Linked DNA regions of Homo sapiens: all the other regions are linked to region 4. The links are contacts of gene promoters, found by promoter capture Hi-C in human tissues and cell types (Jung and others, 2019). All regions are on one chromosome and are shown on one strand. Each heading gives the region's core, a stretch centred on a gene start or on the middle of the fragment in contact. The rest is flanking DNA. Distances are from core to core; before and after follow the strand shown.

Region 1 (2,700 bases), core at 43-2,542, 160 kb before region 4:
CATACACATACTCACAGTTGCATTTCTTTCTCCCCACTGTGTCCACATTTCACACATCTGGAATCAGAGACCCCAGATGCTCACACACGGAGACAGTAACCAGTGGCCACCATCAGCAGGAACGGGGTGCAAACAGCCTGGGGAAGGAACTGCCAAATAATAAGGGTGTTTGTTGGTTTTGTTTTTGTTTTGTTTTGTTTTAATTTTATTATTATTATACTTTAAGTTTTAGGGTACATGTGCACAACATGCAGGATGACGAGTTTTGTTTTGTTTTTAATCAGAACGCTTGCTGTATTTTATTCTCAGCTTTACTGGGGTATAAATGACAAGCAAAATTTGTAAATATTTCAGATGTACAACATGATATTTTGATGTATCATGAAATGATTACCCTATTAAGCTAATTAACACATCTATCACTGCACATAGCTACCATGGGTGTGCAGACAGAACATTGAAACTCCACCCTCTCAGCCAATTTCAAGCCTATCACATGGTACTGGTTAACTACAGTCACCTGCCTGGGGCTCTACATTAGACCTCCAGAACTTATTCAGCCTGCAGAACTGAACCTTCGTAGCCTTTGATTAAAAACTCCCCAATTCCCTCTCCCCACCCACCTGCCAGCTCCTTGTAACCACCATTCCACTCTGCTTCAGTGAGTTCAACTTGTTCAGATGCCAGGCATCAGTGAGACTATGTGGTATTTGTCTTTCGGTATCTGGTTTATTTCACTTACCATGATGTCCTCCGGGTTCACAAACAACAGGATTTCTCCCTTTTCCAAGCTTGGATAATACTCCACGGTGTATATTTACCACATTTTCTTGATCCGTGCACATCAGTGGAAGCTTAGGTTGATTCTGTATCTTGGCTACTGTGAACACGGGAGTGCAGACATCTCTGAGAAATACTGATTTCCTTTCTTCTAGACAGATACCCAGCAGTGGGACTGCTGGATCATTTGTTCTAGTTTTAATTTTTTGAGGAACCATCATGTCTTCCACCGCGGCCATACCCGTTCACATTCCCACCAGCAATGTGCGGGGTTCTCTTGTCTCCACATCCTCACCAGCACTTACCCTTTGTCTTTCTGATGACAGCCATTCTAACAGGTGCGACCTGACAGCTCACTGTACTGCTAACTTGGCTGTCTCTGCAATTAGTCATATTGAACATTTTTTCATATACCTGTTGGCCATTTGTATGTCTTCTTTTGAGAAATGTCTATTCAGTTCAGGACCTTTGCTCATTTTATTTTTTTTTATTTTTATTTTAGAGACAAAGTCTCACTCTGTCACCCAGGCTAGAGTGCGGTGGTGTGATCTTGGCTCACTGTAACCTCAAACTCAAGCGATCCTCCTGCCTCAGCCTCCCACGTAGGTGGGACTACAGATGTGCACCACCTCCCCTGGCTAATTTTTCTTATTTTTTTGTAGAGACAGGGTCTCACTATGTTGCCCAGCCTGTTCTTGAACTTCTGGCCTCAAGTGATCCTCTGACACCTCGGCCTCCCAAAGTGCTGGGATTATAGGTGAGAGCCACGGCACCTGGCCCTTTGCTCATTGTTTAATCTGGTTGTTTTCTTGTTACTCAGTTGTTTGAGTTCCTTATATATTTTGGATATTAATCCCTTATCAGCTGTATGCTTTCCAAATATCTCCTCCCATTCTGGATGTTCTCTCTTTATTCTGTTGGTTGTTTCTTCTGTTCTGCAGAAGCTTTTTGGTTTGATGCAATCCCATTTGTCTATTTTTGCTTTTGTTCTCTGTGCTTTCTGGAGTCACATAAAAAAGAATCATTAGCCAGACCAATACTGCAAAGCTTTTTTCTTATGTTTTCTTCTAATAGTTATAGTTTCAGGTCTTATGCTTGACTCTTTAATCAAATGTGGGTTATTTTTTTTTTTTTTTTTTTGAGACGGAGTCTCACTCTGTCACCCAGGCTGGAGTACAGTGGTGCGATCTCGGCTCACTGCAACCTCTGCCTCCCAGGTTCAACTGATTCTCCTGCCTTGGCCTCCTGAGTAGCAGGATTACAGGCACCTGCCACCACACCCGGCCAATTTTTGTATTTTTAGTAGAGATGTGGTTTCACCTTGTTGGCCAGGCTGGTCTCAAACTCCTCCTGACTTAAGCGATCCACCCACGTCAGCCTCCCAAAATGCTGGGATTACAGGCACCCAGCCTGATTTTTGTATATGGTGTGAGACAAGGGTCTGGTTTCGTTGTGCATATGGATATCCAGTTTCCCTGGTACCATTTATTGAAGAGGCTGTCCTTTCCCCCAAAGGTTCTTGGCATCTTTGTCAAAGATCAACTAACAGTAAACGTGTGGATTTGTTTCTGGGCACTCTACCCTGTTCCATTGGTCAATGTGTCTGTTTTCATGCTGAGGTCATGCTGTTTTGATTACTATAGCTTTGTAGCATATTTTGAAGTCAGGCAGTGTGATGCTTCCAGCTTTATTATTGCTCAAAATTGAGCAAGAATTTTGCTGGCTATTTTGGGTCTTCTGTGGTTCCACATAAATTTTAGAATTTTTTTCTATTTCTGTAAAAAATGCCATTGGAATTATGATAGTGATTGCATTGAATCTATGAGTGGGATTTTAAAGCAATTCTACCTTGACACATGTTAAAAAATAATTTTCCAAAAAGGGCAAAATCATGACTCTAATACAGATGTAAAAATAAAG
Region 2 (2,700 bases), core at 28-2,527, 130 kb after region 4:
GGAAGGACTGACGGAGTTAGAAAATCAACATTTTGCAAACACCACGTTAATATTTAACTTGAGCAAGAATCATCAATACATACTAAAACTATTCTGCAAAGAGTAATGAGAAGCAACATATTTACATGGTGTTAACTTAAAATCACACACTTTATAAATTTAGAAAGGAGAGCCGTATTTCTTAAGAAGGGAATTACAACCTGCAAGCAGGAAGTGCAGTCTCAGGCTAAAAGAATGAAAGCAAGCACTTCTAGGGAGGGAGGGGTGGGGTAGGCTGGCCGAGTATACATATTCAACAAGATATAGAGGGGGTTATGAATATTCATGAAGGGGAGTTCTGTGCATGTATGATAAGCAAACATATATGTTCCATGTATGACATGTTCACCTGTATGTCAAAATTTGAGGCAGGGACTTAACGGCACTGAGTGTGCAGCCTCTGTAAACCAGCCAGAACCAGGCCATGGTCAGTGATCTCTGATCAGGAGAAAGTTACTGAAATCAGTCTCTTGTCCGATCAAAGCTGTAGCTATAGCTGGTGGAGTTGGGAGTCAGTCAGTCAGAGTCTGGTGGTGGGTGGGCTGCAGCTGCTTCAGCATTGCTTAACTCAAGGCCAGTGCTTGATTATCTGCTAGAGAAAAAGGAATTAAAAAAAATACCTTGTGGCGAGTAGAACATAGACTTACTCTTTAAGTGTAGGGGTGGGTGACTTAACCTTTGCCAGGCATGGCCTGAGGTCTAGTTTATAATTCGATATCTTATTGTTACAAAGAGTTCATTCAATCAGTTTTACTATCTCTATTTTAACGTTAATGCTGGTCAGTTGTGTCTGAACTGAAAAAAGAAGGGGGTGTAATGAGGCGTCTCCAATCTCCCACCTGATCATGGCTGGGAACTCAGTTTTTGAGGTTTCTCTGGGGTTCCATTGGCCAAAAAGGGGTCCGTTCAGTCAGTTGGGGGGTTTAGGATGTTATTTGTAGTTTACTGAAGGGGGCCTGCCCCTCCACACCTGTGGGTATTTCTCGCAAGGTGGAGACGAGGGACCGAAAAAAGAAATAAGACACAGAGACAAAGTACAGAGGAAGAAAAGTGGGGACTGGCGCTCAGCAAGTGAGGACCTGCACCAGCACTGGTCTCTGAGTTCCTCAGTATTTATTGATCACTATCTCTACTATCTTGATGAGGGGATGTGGCAGGACTGTAGGGTAATGGTGGGGAGAGGGTCAGCAGGACAACATGTGAGCAAAGGAGTCTGTGTCATAAATAAGTTTAAGGAACGGTGCTGTGCCTGGATGTGCACATAGGCCAGATTTATGTTTGACTTTACACAAACATTTCAGTGCAGTAAAGAGCAGTATTGCTGCCAGCATGTCTCACCTCCAGCCACAAGGCAGTTTTCTCCTATCTCAGTAAATAGAATGTATGATCGGGTTTTACACCAAGACATTCCATTCCCAGGGATGAGCAGGAGACAGATGCCTTCCTCTTATCTCAACTGCAAAGAGGCCTTCCTCTTTCACTAATCCTTCTCAGCACAGACCCTTTATGGGTGTCGGGCTGTGGGATGGTAAGATCTTTCCCTTCCCACAAGGCCATATCTCAGGCTGTCTCAGTTGGGGGAAAACTTGGACAATACCCAGGCTTTCTTGGGCACAGGTCCCTGCGACCTTCCACAGTACACTGTGTCCCTGGGTAGTCAAGAAAGGAGAATGGCGATGACTTTTACCAAGCATACTGCCTACAAACACATGTTTACCAAGGCACATCCTGCACAGCCCTAAATCCATTAAACCTGAGTCAATACAGCACCTGTTTCTGCGAGCACAGAGTTGGGGCTAGGGTCACAGATTAACAGCATCTCAAGGCAGAAGAATTTCTCTTAGTACAGATCAAAATGTAGTTTCTTATGCCTTCCTTTTTCTACGTAGACTCAGTAACAGTCTGATCTCTTTTTCTTTCCCCCACAGTTTGCAATAGTTTCAAAGTAACCCCTTCCACAGACACAAATTGTTCATTAGTTATAAATAGAACAACAGTAACTTTACAGTGGAAAAAGCTGGCGGACATCATTTTAGCCACATAATCAAAGTTAACGTCAACAGTAAGGAGAAAATCAACACCACGTGTCTTCTGACAACAACGCGCTGATGGGAGCCCAACATCATTTACACCATAAATCAAATGTTTATCCGTTGGCGATTCCAGCCAAAAATAGATAACCTGATCCAATCATGAGGGAACTTCAGACAAACCCAAACTGAAGGACATTCTACAGAATAACTGGTCTGTACTCATAACAAAGAATCAATGTCATGAGGGACCATGAAAGGCTGAGGATGTCCCACAGGTTGAAAGTGACGAAAACAAACAAAAAACAACCAGCAACCAACTACGATGCACAACCTTGGATTGGAGCCTTCTCAAAATTGCTGAAAATAACAGTGGAACAAGTGGTGAAATTTGAATATGGGCTATATGTTAGGTATTCATTTTATGTCAATGTTAAATTTTCCGACATTGATATTTGTACCAGGAAATGTAAAAGAAGGCCCAAATTTAGCGATAAATTATGCCTGCCACTCACTCTCTCCAATGATTCAGAAGATAGTACGGATGATGAACAGATGACAGAGACATGGTAGGTAGATCAATAGATGGATGGATAGATAGAAAATATGAAATAAGAAACTCCTGGACACG
Region 3 (2,700 bases), core at 74-2,573, 190 kb before region 4:
CCTCAAAGGGTGGGGTCATTTCCACATACTCGAGAGTCCCTGCACCTGAGGGGTATTTCACAATTTCATTGTACAAGCCCATTTTAATTAACTAGGTTCTTCTCAGAGGCCAGGAACACTTAGAGATGAGAGGCTGCAGCTGCAAAGCCACATGGGATGGGGCAGGAGGGGACTGCTGTCTTCCCGAGTTTAAAATACACCCAGGAGCCCTCTTCCCCCACCCCACCTGCAGATTCACACTTGAGAGGACCTTGCCACATGCAAGGGTGACTCAGGGACCTTCTCCTCGCATTTATGGCCAAAGTACAAGAACAAAGGGCAGATGGGGTGGAGGCCACTTAGAAGATGTGGGTCCTGTGACGGCATAAACCAGCCCTAAAGCTGGAGCCATTCCTGCAGAGGCCATTTCATCCCACATGGGACAGGACCCCGCTTCTCCTCTGGGTGGGACCCATTCTTTTGCCTTGAGCTGGCTTATTCTTAACTGTACACTCACAAACATAATCCATTTTATCTGCAGGATTCCTGGGAAAGGAATTCTTGCATTCAGATTATGAGGACTCTGTCCAGGGGGCTCTCACACCTCCCTCAAAGCAGAGAGAGCTCGCCCCTGGCCATGGGAGCCGCCCGCCACACAGGGGCTGGTGAATGAGGTCGCCACGCAGTGAGGCTGAGGGAGGGGGTTTGGAAGTGCTACTGGGGATGACAGTGGCCAGTCCCAGGCCTGCCACCTTCAGACCAAGAGCAGGCACGAGCCAACCCTGGTTACTTAACTGAGACCAGCTCCCAAGAGACAGCATTCCAGGCCCCCATGCCTTCTCCCGGTGGGAAAATCTGGATGGAGGATAAAAAAAGGGGCTGAGGCTTGTCCTGGATCCGTGGGTATCCACCATTTGCAGCCCGAACAACCAAGCCCACCTTTAGGGGAGGAAACACATGGCAGCAACTGGAACGTGGCATTGAAAGTCCGAGGCTCAGATTCCCAAGCCGCCATGCCCCAGGCAGGACCTTCCACAATGACATCCCAAGAAAACAGCCAACGTAGACTGAGCTGGGAGGGCCTGGTGAGGAAGTGGGTGGGGCTGGGAGCCAAGGCCTGGGCGTGTCTCACTCCGGCCACTGACACCCTGACCCAGGAGGCACCTTCTCGGGCCTTGGGTCCACATATCCTCCAGCAAGGTGCCCTCCAGATCCGATACCTGAGGGCTGGGCCAGTGGCTTCAAGGCAAACACAAAGTGAAGGGGAGGGACACAGAGCTTCATAACCACGCAAGGACGCTTGCTCTGAAGGCGTCAGCTCTCCCTGAAGGAGGCAGCCTGGACCACAAGGGAGGACTGGGCCCAAGAGCTTCCAGAGCAGGCACAGAGGAGGCTGAGTGCAGGCGGCACATGTATGTGCAGGGTCTCTGCTGTGCGTGCAGGGTCTTGGCTATGCATGCAGGGTCTCGGCTGTGCACACGTGCAGGGTCTCGGCTGTGCGTGCGTGCAGGGTCTCAGCTGTGCGTGCATGCAGGGTCTCAGCTGTGTGAGCAGGGTCTCAGCTGTGCGTGTGTGCAGGGTCTCGACTGTGTATGCAGGGTCTCAGCTGTGTGAGCAGGGTCTCAGCTGTGCATGTGTGCAGGGTCTCTGCTGTGCGTGCAGGGTCTCTGCTGTGCGTGCAGGGTCTTGGCTATGCATGCAGGGTCTCGGCTGTGCGCACGTGCAGGGTCTCAGCTGTGCGTGCATGCAGGGTCTCAGCTGTGTGAGCAAGGTCTCAGCTGTGCGTGTGTGCAGGGTCTCAGCTGTGTGAGCAGGGTCTCAGCTGTGCGTCCACCCACCACACCCATCCTCTCTGTCCTGTTTCGACAATGAGGCTCGAAAGATCCAGCTCTGTGAAGTGGGAGGATGGAAGACCCCTGCACACTGTGGAGAAGAGTCTGTGCTTCTAATAAGGGCATGTAAGAGGACGAGGGCACCGGCCACTCTGCCTGGCCACAGAAGGGAAGATACGACCTGGACTCCACCAACCAGGGCTGGGAGGATCTGTGCCTTTGAAATCCTCCAAACACCTGGAGGCCACACCACGGCACTCCCACCAGGGTCTCTGGGGCCCGGGTCCCACTCTTCTTCCTTCTTCAGAGGTTTGTGGTCATTGCTCAGGAGGGACTCAGCCTGGTTAGAGTCTCCCAGGAGCACGGAGTGAAGGCCGAGCTCAGAGCCATTGCCCCTTCTCTCTGGAAGACAGGCACCATCTCCATGTCTCATGGGGTCTGTCTCATGGGCCTTGAGCAGCAGCTCACCTCTGCCGGAGGGATCCATGTGCTGGGAGCACCCGTGTGCTATGGGGATCCGTGTGCTAGGGGGACCCGTGTGCTGGAGGGACCCGTATACTAGGGAGATCTGTGTGCTGGGGGAGGGGGAACCCGTGTGCTGGTGGTATCCGTGTGCTGGGGGGATCCGTGTGCTGGGGGGGAGCCGTGTGCTGGAGGGACCTGTGTGCTGGAGGGACCTACGTGCTGGGGGGATCCATGTACTGGGGAGACCCGTGTGCTGGGGAGATCCGTGTGCTGGGGAGGGAAGCCGTGTGCCGGGGAGGGAACCCGTGTGCTGGGGAGAACCTGTGTGCTGGGGGGACCTATGTGCTGGGGGGATCCATGTGCTGGTGGTATCCATGTACTGGGGGAATCCACGTGCTGGGGAGAGAACCCGTGTGCTGGGGAG
Region 4 (2,700 bases), core at 75-2,574:
CTGAACAATACTAAGTTTTAAAAAATCTATAATATGTCATTTTTGTACATTATATTTTGGAAATGTACAAAATATTAGGAAAAGTGGTAATTTTGGCAAATGTAGGAGGCAGTACATCTTACAGTTAAAGAGGTCAAGAGAGCAACCACTTCGCAGTCAGAGAAACCAAGCCTCACCCCAGTTCCAATACCTCTTCAATGTGTCATCTTAGGAAAGTTACTCAATCACTATTGAGCCCCGTGACATCTCACATGTGAGGTACAGTGTTAAGCAGCATTTTATGGGCATTATTTACTAAAATTGTTATAAGATCCAAGTTATCATTCCCATCTCAAAGATGAAGAAACCAGGACTCAAAGCAATAAAGTGACCTGCTCAGTGCTGTGAAGCTAAGAAGTGGTGGGGCCCAGGAATGACTGATCAGCAGGACCCCGGGACCCCGCAAAGGCCTCTTGATGTCACTAAACCCAGCAAAAAACATCTAGTTCCAAAACGGGTCATTTTTCAGTGCTCCATTGTCTCCCTGAGTTTCCTCACCTGTAAAACGGGTGTAAGTGCTCAGAATCCCTATAAGAACCAAATGAGGTTGTAACATTTCCCACAATGCCTGGAATGTAGGAATTATTCTGCATCCCTAAGTTGCCACTTAAGAGATAAAAGAAATCAGCAAAAGGCTTTCAAAAATAAATGGTCCTTTGAAGTATGAAAATTCAAATCCAGGAAACTCACCAAGCATGGCCAAGGTGCGCATGATCATATACAGTTGGTCCACAGCTATACCTGGAAACAAAGTTAAAATCCATCGTGTGGAACATATTTGCAAGAAAGGACATTCGATTCTGAGTTATAATGATCATATAATTTTTAAAGTAATCACTTCTGGGGGATGAATAGCCGGGGTTTTCATACTTGCTCAATTCACACCCAAACCTGCAAAAGCACCGCGCACCCCCAGCTTCTAGAACGGCGCCCTCCATGCAGCTTCCTAAACGCCCTCCCCGAGCCCAGATCCCGTTCAGCCGTGGGAAGTCTCCGCCACGATCGGCCCCCGCCCGTGCCCCAGTCCCGCGCGGCCCACCAGGAGGCGGCTTCGGCGTGCGCCACGATTAGGGGTTCCTTCCTCCCGGTGAGGCTGTTGTACACCTGCACACCCGTCTCCCGGCCCGTGGGCTGCAGCCAGGCCCGCCCGCGCCCCCCGCTCGCCGCCCGGCCCGCAGGCCAGTGCCACCCAGCCCGCCCAAGGCCCAGCGCGGCCTGGAGCAGCGGGGGGCCCAGGCCTGGGCCGCGCGTAGTCCTCAACATGTCAGCGGCCAGCGCCTACGACTGGGCGGAGACGGGAGCCACGCCGGGTACGCTGCCGGTCGCTCAAGAGCAGCACGGCCCCGCCCCGCCCCGCCCACGCCCTTGGGGCCACGCCCACTCCCGGAAGCAGTCCTCAGGTAGCGCCTCCCTTTGGCCTGGCTCGAGTCGCCCGCGGCAAGGGTGGAGAACCAGGGCCCGAAGAGGTTGGGGCGGGGAAGGCCCGGGGTGGAGGGAGGAGGGCGGTGCCGCGCCGGGAGGCCGTGGGAAGAGGCGGTACCGTGCCGATCTCCTCTCCTTATTAGCCCAGGTCCTGCGAGGCGTCCGTGTGCGCGCGGTACCAGCCTGGAGCTGTGTCCGCCGCGCGGGAGGAGCGTTTACAGTGCAAGCTTCTGTTGCCGGGCCCTGGCCTGTTAGCGAAGCACGTGTGCATCCCAGCACAGCCCACGTCAGCACGCTAATACACAGTGTCCACCCCAGAACACACGTCAGCACCCCAATACAGTGTGCACCCCAATACAGTGTGCACCCCAAACACACATCTGCGCCCCAATACAGTGTGCACTGCAGCACACCGTTAGCATCCCAACACAGTGCACCCCGATACACAATGTGCAACCCAACACACAGTCTGCACCCCAAGAAGTGTGCACCCCAATACACAGTATGCACCCCAGCACACACATCAGCATCCCAATACAGTGTGCACCCCAATACAGTGTGCACCCCAGCACACACATCTGCACCCCAATAGTGTGCACTGCAGCACACCATCAGCATCCCAACACAGTGCACCCCGATACACAGTGTGCAACCCAGCATACAGTCTGCACCCCAATACACAGTATGCACCCTAGCACACACCACATCAGCATCCCAATACAGTGTGCACTCCAATACAGTGTGCACCCCAGCACACACCATGTCTGCACCCCAGTACAGTGTACACCCCAATACAGTGTGCACCCCTAATACACTGTGCACTCTAACACACACCATGTCTGCACCCCAGTACAGTGTGCACCCCAACACAGCACATGTGCATCCCAGCAAACACTGTCTGCATTCCAATGCAATGTGCACCTCAATAGAGTGTGCGCCCCCACACATCTACACCCCAATACAGTGTGCACCCCAATACACAGTGTGCAACCCAACACACACCATGTCTGCACTCCAATACACAGCATGCCTCCCCCACCATGATCCCGTATCTTGAGAACAAAAACATTCTGAAAGTTACTCACAATAGCTTGACAAACGTGCCTCTATTGGGCCAGGCGCAGTGGCTCACACCTGTAATCCCAGCACTTTGGGAGGCTGAGGCGGATGGATCACCTGAGGTCAGGAGTTCGAGACCAGCCTGACCAATATGGTGAAACCCCGTCTCTACTAAAAATA
Region 5 (2,700 bases), core at 151-2,650, 150 kb after region 4:
CACCATCCAAGAGGAGGAGAATTAAACTCCACCTTTTAAAGCCACCATGATATGGTTTGGCTGTGTCCCCACCCAAATCTCATCTTGAATTCCCACATGTTGTGGGAGGGACCTGATGGGAAGTAATTGAATCATGGGGGCAGGTCTTTCCTGTGCTGTTCTCATGATAGTGAATGAGTCTCATGAGATATGATGGCTTTATAAGGCGGAGTTTCCTTGCACAAGTTCTGGCTCTTTGCCTGCTGCCATCCATGTAAGATGTGACTTGCTCCTCCTTGCCTTCCACCGTGATTGTAAGGCTTCCCCAGCCATATGGAACGGTAAGTCCAATTAAAACTCTTCCTTTTGTAAATTGCCCAGTCTTAGGTAGGTTGTTATCAGCAGTGTGAAAACCTGCTTTTTTCTGTCACCACATGCTTTTCTCTGGTCAGACCACACTCAGGAAATGGTGTTTTCTGTGAGGAGGTCAGACACATGGGGTGCTTGTGCAGGGGGAAGAGATCAGATGGTGAAGAAATGGAGCCTGTGAAACCTAAGAAACCATTGAAAAGGCAGATGACATTTAGCCTATGTTGGGGGAACACTACAGCATATCCTAACCTTTCCTGTACTTGTCTTTATGAAAATGGAACTGCATAAATTATTTTGTGTTAAGCTTCTTTTGCTTAACCTTATGCTTATAAGACTATATTTATTACTGGGTATAGTTGGACTTCTTCCATTTTTCTTAAAAGATAACTCCATTATAGTTCCGTATTCCATTGTATGCACATGCTACAATTTCTCTATTCATTTTACTTTTGACGGACATTGGGGCTGTTTCCAGTTTTAGGGTGTTGGGACTAATGGAACTATGAACGTTCTTGGACATGTCTGCTGTTGCAGATCTGCATATTTCTCTGTTAAATAAATGTTTAGGAGGAGAATTGCTAGGTCACAGGGAAGTGTATGTTAAATGTCAGGAAATAATGTTCAACTGTTTCCCAAAATGGCTTTACAATTTACACTCTGACCAAGGGTGTATTAGAGTTCCCATTGCTATATCCTTATCAGCATTTGATAATGTCAGTGTTTTTAATTTTAGCTGCTCTGGTGGGTGTAAAGTGATACCTTGGTGTGGTTTAATCTGCATTTCTCTCACTACTTAATGATGAAATGGATCATCCATCAATATGATTATTGGCCAACTGGATACTTCTATTTATTTGTTCATTTTTTGTGAAGTGCCTGTTCAAGCCTCTTACATATTTTATTATGGATTGTTTGTCTTTTTCTAATTGACATATGAGATTGTAATATAAACTCCTGATGCAATCTTCTTGTCAGTTACATATGTTTCTTCCATTTCCTGGCTTGCCCTTCTATTCTCTTAATATTGCATTTTGATGATCAAAAGCTCTTATTTTTTAAAAATTCAAGTTAAAAAATTTTACAAAAATTTCAAACACCATTTATAAGTATTTCAGTACATATCATGGAAAGATAAGGACTCCTAAAATACAGATCAATATTAACAATAATTTATTAATATCATTAAGTATCTAGGGTTCAAATTTCCCCACTTGTCTCACAAATGCTTTGATTTTAGTTTGTTTGAAGTGAGGTCCAGAAAAGCTCCCTGCATTGCCGTTGGCTGACACATCTCCTAAGGCTCTTTTAATATCAGTTCACCCCTATATTTTACTCATTTTCCTCAGCAATTTATTTGCTGAAGGAACTAGGTCACTTGTTCCATAAGTTACTCTAGGTTGGATCTGTGCTGTCCAAGAGCAAGTGTTTTCATCAACCCAGGACCAACCTCAAGCCCTGGACTCACACCCAGGCAGTCAGGGGACTGTCTGGTTGAGGCAGCAGAGACTCCAGGTGGGGCCTCTGTATCCCCTGCCCGCATGCTGCTTGTGCTGAGCCCAGAGCATCCCCTTCTTCTCACTACATGCTTTAAATGGGAGTAATAAAGTGAAGGGTTCATTTGTCTTCATTTGCTCTGAGGCTGTGTGTTTTGTGGCCTCTGGGATCACCTATCTGAGAGTGACCTTGAGAGCATGCTTGCATGGAGATCATTCCCCACACAACTGCCTGTAAAAATCCATTGATATTTATTTCCATTGCAATTTCAGCTACCTGAGCATCATTCAGGGAGAACTAACTTCTTTATGACATCATCTTTTCAATTCAGTATCTCCTCCATTTATTTAGTATTTATTTCTCACAATAATGCTGTTTCTGCACAGAACTATTGCATACCTTATGTTAAATATATTTGATAGTCGATGTTTTTAAAACTGGCGTTCCTGATTAAACTGAGGTTTCTGTTTGTTACTGGTGTATAGAAATACAACTAAAAAAAAAAAAAGTTGACCCTATAGCTGGGCGTTGTGGTGTGCATCTGTAGTCCCAGCTACTCCAGAGGCTGAGGTAGGAGAATTGCTTGAGCCCCGGAGGTCAAGGCTGCAGTGAGCTCTGGTCACACCATTGCACTCCAGCCTGGGTGACAGAGTGAGGCCCTATCGCAAAAAAAAAATGTTGACCCTGCACCCATAAATGATTTAAACTCACTTATTAATTCTAATTATATTTGAAGTCTTTTAAGCTTTCTACATACAAAATCATATCATCCACTAATAGAATTTTTTTTCCTACCCAATCATTTTTATTTCCTCACCTTATTGCACCAGGAAAAACCTCCAGTAAAAGGTGAAC
Region 6 (2,700 bases), core at 164-2,663, 220 kb before region 4:
AAGTGGATTCGCAGTTTCCTACACTTGATCTTAGCCAAAAGGCCGAGAAGCGATGGATTCGCAGTTTCCTAAAGCTGAAGGGTTAGGGGAGAATTAGGGCATGGCTGCCAGCGGCTCCAGGGTTTCATTTTCTGGGATAAAGTGTTCTCAAGTTAGACGGTGCTGCTTGCTCACAGCTCTGTGAGTACACTAAAGTTATGTAATTGTTCTGTTTACTGGAGCGAGTTGTAGGGTATATAAATTATACATCAATAAGCTGTTTTGGAAAACCTTAATTACTCTTCAGACTTACAGCTTTTACAAATTTTCAGCAAAATAAAAATTGCAATCTAGGGTGCTCATTTTTTTTAAGATTTTTACTCACACTTGTGCTTTCAAATAGTCTTCCTGTTAGCAGAGATTTCAGGCTATTTCAGGCAAAAAAAAAAAATGACATTTTAAGATTAAGTAATTTTCAGCTCCATGGTAATTATTTCCTCGAGCCTCCTTAGGGTGAAGTTAACCATGGGGGTGTCTGTCCCTCCACTGGTGGGCACGCTCTGTGGGGTCAGGACCAATTTATGATTTTGATCCCATCAGCCTCTAGCCTAGTACTGAATACACAGTAAATGCTTAGAGACTGAAGCTCAATTATTTTCACTGAGCCAGATTTCACTTACTCCTCCAGTGAGCATGGATTCCGGGGCATCCCCAGCCTGAACTAGCACAGTTTCCCGCCCGGCCCGCAGCTCTGGGCCCCTCCCCTCCTGCAATTTCTCAGCTCCTCAGAACCCCCCGGAGACCTCCCTTCCATGCTTCTCCTCCCTGTGAAGGTGCCTACAGGAGGGCACGGAGCTGGCGCCTGCCTCACGGGCCTTCCTGCTTGTGACCGAGGTCCATCATGGTCTCATCAGAGCACACACAACAAAATGACCTTCTCACAAAGCATCCTATGGGAGTCACACTGGCTTTGACCGCTCCCTCTGCATCTGCTGGCAGGCACGTCCCCCTACTGTGGTGCTGTGTGCTCAGTGACACCAGCCCCAGGCCCAGGACCCTGGAGCCACCCCCAACTCCAACTACTCCGATGGACACAGGAGAGGCTTCTCCGGCGCCCTTGGTCTCTCTCCAAGGCTTCCCTGCTTGGGGGAGACGTGCAGCCCTATGGCTCAGGGACCAGGCCTTCACCTGTGTTCTCCTGCGTGGTCTGGAGCCCCCAGAAAATGACAGCACTCTATTCCCTTCCAGGCAGCCGAGGGGACCCTGGGCCCCCAGGACCACCTCCTGTCATCCTGCCAGGAATGAAAGACATTAAAGGAGAGAAAGGAGATGAAGGGCCTATGGGGCTGAAAGGATACCTGGGCGCAAAAGGTGAGGCTTCTGACCTGCAGCCAGGGGCCCCTAGTCCCTGCCGCCCCAGCCCGCACCAGCTCGTGCCCTTCTCCGTCCCCAGAGACGCCCGTGCCCTCCACCTGGCTTTCTTCGTGCTTTTCATCTCTGGGCGCCCTGTGTGTCCATAGCTGGCGCAGGGTTGTTCTCTGATGCCTGAGTAACCTCGGTTTCCCATCTTAAGATTTGCAGCACTGGCCGGGCGCGGTGGCTCACGCCTGTAATCCCAGCACTTTGGGAGGCCGAGGCGGGTGGATCACAAGGTGAGGAGATCAAGACCATCCTGGCTAACACGGTGAAACCCCGTCTCTACTAAAAATACAAAAAAATTAGCCGGCATGGTGGTGGGCGCCTGTAGTCCCAACTACTTAGGAGGCTGAGGCAGGAGAATGGCGTGAACCGGGGAGGCAGAGCTTGTAGTGAGCCGAGATTGCGCCACTGCACTCCAGCCTGGGCGACAGAGCGAGACTCCGTCTCAAAAAAAAAAAAAAAAAAAAAAAAGATTCACAGCACGTAGGACAGCAAAATGCATCCAGGCTGCAAAATTGAAAACTGGAGGGCGGGTGCTGCGTCCTCACCAGAGTGTTACACACCAGGGTCTTCCTGCAGGTATCCAAGGAATGCCAGGCATCCCAGGGCTGTCAGGAATCCCTGGGCTGCCTGGGAGGCCCGGCCACATCAAAGGAGTCAAGGGAGACATCGGAGTCCCCGGCATCCCCGGTTTGCCAGGATTCCCTGGGGTGGCTGGCCCCCCTGGAATTACGGGATTCCCAGGATTCATAGGAAGCCGGGTGAGTGGGCGTCTTTTACTCCCCTTGTTCTGTGAGCTCCTCTCCCCTTTGCTTGTGAATGGACATGCTTTGGTCTGGAATTTGCTAGGGTGAGAGTGTCAGTGGCAGGTTCAGGGCAGCCTCAGGCTTGGTGGGGTCCACACAGCCCTGGAAGGAGCTGCTGCACTTGGACACCATGCAGATGTGATGTGAGTCCAACCGGCTGCCGTGGCCCTTCTGTGGGCTTGTGCTGGGTGAAGCATGTTGTCTGCATTTTTCATGGTGGCCTTGAGAGAACAAAACTTGAATTTTCAGGGATCAGAGCTCTAAAATTGAGCACATCAGTGACACCAGGCCTGAGAGCCCATGGCCGAATCACAGCGTAGACCTGGGCCCGGCAGCCTGGCTTCCCATCCGGGCCACCGTTCACTCAGCCTTTGTTCAGCGGATGTCTGTTGAGCACTTGACATGGGCCAGACACGCTGTTGTGATGGTAACAATGGTGAGCCCTGACCCTGGGCAGGGCTCTCTTCTCCACACCTTCTCCCTCAGCTGCAGAATG
Region 7 (2,700 bases), core at 8-2,507, 240 kb after region 4:
AGGACAGAGGCTGGCTCTGCTCTGAATACACGGAACTCCTCCTGCCTGCCTGCAGCTGGGACATGGGCTGTTTCCTGCCTTAAGACTGGAACTGAAACATTAGCTCTTCCTGAGTCTCCAGCTTGTAGACTCTGCAGGTCTTGGGACTTGTCAGCCTCCATAATCACATGAGCCAATTCCATATTATAAATATCTCACACACACGCACATACACACACGCATATATTCACACACACAAATACACATGCACACACACACCACACATACACTCACGCACACACATCCACACACACGCACACACACATGCACACGCACACACACATGCACACGCACACATACACGCACATCCTATTAGTTTCCCTAGAGAACGCTGACAAATACGCAGGCTCTGAGGTTATGTTTCTTCAAAGCTTATGCTATCAGACAATAGCAAGCTTCGAATGCTGTTATTTTCCAGAGTTAATTAGGTTTTCATCTCTTTTTATTAAGGAAAAAAACCATGTTGCCTCTAACTTAATATTTAAATATGTTTATTTTGTTTGTCATCCTTAGAATAAGACAGTTTTCCTTTATACAGAATGTTCCATAATTCGGCGTCTGCCCCAAGGGTGGGAGTGAGTGGAGAGTGCAGGCTCTGCCGGCGGCCCTAGTCCTAGCCTGGCGTGGCGTCCGCCTGTAGTAACTGGCTCTCAGTACACTTTCATGCAGCTTTCTCTTCTGCTTTAGATGATCTCCTGTTGGAAAGAACAGAGTTTCTTGAGAAACTGGGTGTTTCATTAACTGTTCTTAGAGCCTATGTTTCAGACCCACCGTGGCTCACTCCACCAATAAGCATGGGCTGTGAGGCTGACGGGTGTGGCTGGTAGCATTAGACTCCCCTTCTTTGAGTGTCCACGCCCCACACAGATGCCTTCTTAGGGCTGCACAGGGTGGCCTTCCCCAGGTGCAGGGGGTGAGTACCAAGCGCTCCCTGTGTGCCGGGCCCTGCACTCAACCCTCTGCAGACAGCATCTCCTTCCATCTCCTCAACACCCAGTACAGGTGCTGTGATTATCCCACTTTGAAGATGAAGAAGGCTTAGGATGCGCGGTCATTTGCCCAAGGTCTTCCCAAGGTCACACAGCTCATAGGGGCCAAGTTGGGATTGGAACCCAGGTCAGACCGGCTCCAAGCCTGTGCTCCAGCCCCACCCAGCCCCCAACAGAGCCTGATCCTCTGGCTCTATGAGTGGGTGTGGGGCTCAGGGAGCAGAATTCTTGCTTTCAGTTTCCCAGGAAGGCGCTGGGTGACTGGAAGGAGAGACAGGGAGAGGCACCTTGAATGGAATGAGGCCGGTTGGTCATCTGAGTGGGAGGTGCTGGGATGGCCCCTGGGGGTGCTCCGGGTGTGCTAGGATTCAAGAGGCCCAGAGAGGGCCAGGCTGGCATGGGCATGGGGGTGGGGGCTCAGATGAGCCTGGCAGCGTGCAGTGTGAGGGGAGATGGGCACCAGCAGGATTGGGGGGACACCAGGGGACAGGAGGAACTGAGCCCTCAGTTGTGGAGGGAGGGGAGAGCCCTGTGGATGTGTCCGGGGCAGGAGGACGGAGGGGGCGCTGGCTGCGTCAGGCTGCCTTTGGCTCTCCTGTGGGGCCACCCTGTCCAGTGTCATTTCCCCTGCATTCTCCCTCAAAACCCATTGACAACTCCAAGCTTGGCGGAGCTGGGCTGGTCCTCCTCCTCCTCCCCTCACAGCGGCCGGCTGTGGATCTCATTCCTGGGATGTCAGTACCAGGAGGTTGGGGACTCCTGGTTCTTCACTGTCCAACATTGCCAGGGCTCTGGAAGTCCCCACTGTCACCTCCGGGGCTTCTGTTGCCGACGGCCACACCTAGAGGTGCTGGTGACGTACAGGAGCTTCATCAGTGCAGAGGCCCCTGTCTTTTGCTGTTAGAGTTATAGGAGAATTTGTGGTTCTCCCTGCAGAACAGTCAAGTCCCAGGGAACTGGAATCTTGACAAGGTCAATCATGAAATTGTATCTAAAGCAGCAGAGGTTGTCCTGGACAGCAGCACAATCTGGGAAATTGGCTGTAGCTTGAACGACCGCTCACTGCCCTTTCTACACCGCGTGTGTTGGCCTGGTCCCTGCTGCTGGGGCACGAGCAGACCTTGTGGCCTGGGGTTTTGTGGTCCTGGGACTGACACTGGCCTGGCAAAGTCTGAACATGGGGGGCTAGGGGCCCCACTTCAGAGAAGCTCCTGGCCTGTGCTCGATGACAACTGGTGTAGCAGGGAGGTCTCCAGCGACGCTTCCCGGGACCGTCCTCTTCGGCATTTTAACAAAGGACGAGCTGGCCGGCTTCCCACGCTTGTGGACAGTGAGGGGCTGGGAGCAGCAGCCGACAGGCTGGATGGAAAAGTCAGAACCCCAATGCTTTAAGAGGGGACAGGGAGGCCCACCTAACTGTTCTCTAGCAGGTAAGCTCCCAGGCAGGGCTCTCTGTTTTATGTAGAAACCCCAGAGCCTAGGACAGTGCCTGGCACGTGGTGGGTGCTTGGGAAGCACCAGTGGAGGTGAGTGAAGGTGACAGGGTCTCAATGTCTGGCTCTGTGCTCGGGCTATGAAAAGCCAGCCATGTGGCTCGGCAATGGCTCATTTGCCAAAGTCTTTGGAGTTCACAGACAGCAGCTCGGGATTCATGGTGTGACGCGCTCCAGAC

The links. Contacts are between HindIII fragments. The study calls those that stand out against the background at their distance.
Region 1: a fragment that was not itself captured here is called in contact with the fragment with the promoter of CARS2 in region 4 in 1 of the 25 tissues and cell types used here (mesenchymal stem cells).
Region 2: a fragment that was not itself captured here is called in contact with the fragment with the promoter of CARS2 in region 4 in 3 of the 25 tissues and cell types used here (dorsolateral prefrontal cortex, heart right ventricle and mesenchymal stem cells).
Region 3: a contact is called between a fragment that was not itself captured here and the fragment with the promoter of CARS2 in region 4, in 1 of the 25 tissues and cell types used here (stomach).
Region 5: a contact is called between a fragment that was not itself captured here and the fragment with the promoter of CARS2 in region 4, in 2 of the 25 tissues and cell types used here (IMR-90 fibroblasts and thymus).
Region 6: a contact is called between a fragment that was not itself captured here and the fragment with the promoter of CARS2 in region 4, in 1 of the 25 tissues and cell types used here (neural progenitor cells).
Region 7: a fragment that was not itself captured here is called in contact with the fragment with the promoter of CARS2 in region 4 in 1 of the 25 tissues and cell types used here (lymphoblastoid cells).

What each region holds. Positions count from the first base shown.
Region 1 is chr13:110,541,874-110,544,573 of GRCh38, forward strand. All of the region lies in intron 1 of RAB20 (RAB20, member RAS oncogene family), which reads right to left. Among named protein-coding and RNA genes, the nearest start is that of RAB20, 18 kb to the right of the region's middle. The HindIII fragment of the contact is 3,610 bases long and covers 1-2,700 here.
Region 2 is chr13:110,836,249-110,838,948 of GRCh38, forward strand. No RefSeq gene overlaps it. Among named protein-coding and RNA genes, the nearest start is that of LINC00567, 25 kb to the left of the region's middle. The HindIII fragment of the contact is 6,636 bases long and covers 1-2,700 here.
Region 3 is chr13:110,517,639-110,520,338 of GRCh38, forward strand. No RefSeq gene overlaps it. Among named protein-coding and RNA genes, the nearest start is that of COL4A2-AS1, 11 kb to the left of the region's middle. RefSeq lists an enhancer at 185-1,021. The HindIII fragment of the contact is 5,926 bases long and covers 1-2,700 here.
Region 4 is chr13:110,704,792-110,707,491 of GRCh38, forward strand. CARS2 (cysteinyl-tRNA synthetase 2, mitochondrial) reads right to left here and starts at 1,325. Exons shown (of 15, transcript NM_024537.4): 1 at 1,079-1,325; 2 at 730-780. The coding sequence starts at 1,302. RefSeq lists a silencer at 1,133-1,692 and enhancers at 1,743-2,122, 2,133-2,252. The HindIII fragment of the contact is 14,015 bases long and covers 1-2,700 here.
Region 5 is chr13:110,857,150-110,859,849 of GRCh38, forward strand. No RefSeq gene overlaps it. Among named protein-coding and RNA genes, the nearest start is that of PRECSIT, 12 kb to the right of the region's middle. The HindIII fragment of the contact is 3,127 bases long and covers 1-2,700 here.
Region 6 is chr13:110,483,678-110,486,377 of GRCh38, forward strand. It overlaps COL4A2 (collagen type IV alpha 2 chain), which reads left to right. Exons shown (of 48, transcript NM_001846.4): 33 at 1,228-1,350; 34 at 1,978-2,159. Among named protein-coding and RNA genes, the nearest start is that of COL4A2-AS2, 22 kb to the left of the region's middle. RefSeq lists enhancers at 556-1,394, 1,395-2,232, 2,233-2,700. The HindIII fragment of the contact is 6,661 bases long and covers 1-2,700 here.
Region 7 is chr13:110,944,816-110,947,515 of GRCh38, forward strand. It overlaps LOC105370364 (a long non-coding RNA gene), which reads right to left. Exons shown (of 3, transcript XR_931732.3): 3 at 641-734. Among named protein-coding and RNA genes, the nearest start is that of LINC00431, 20 kb to the right of the region's middle. The HindIII fragment of the contact is 5,736 bases long and covers 1-2,700 here.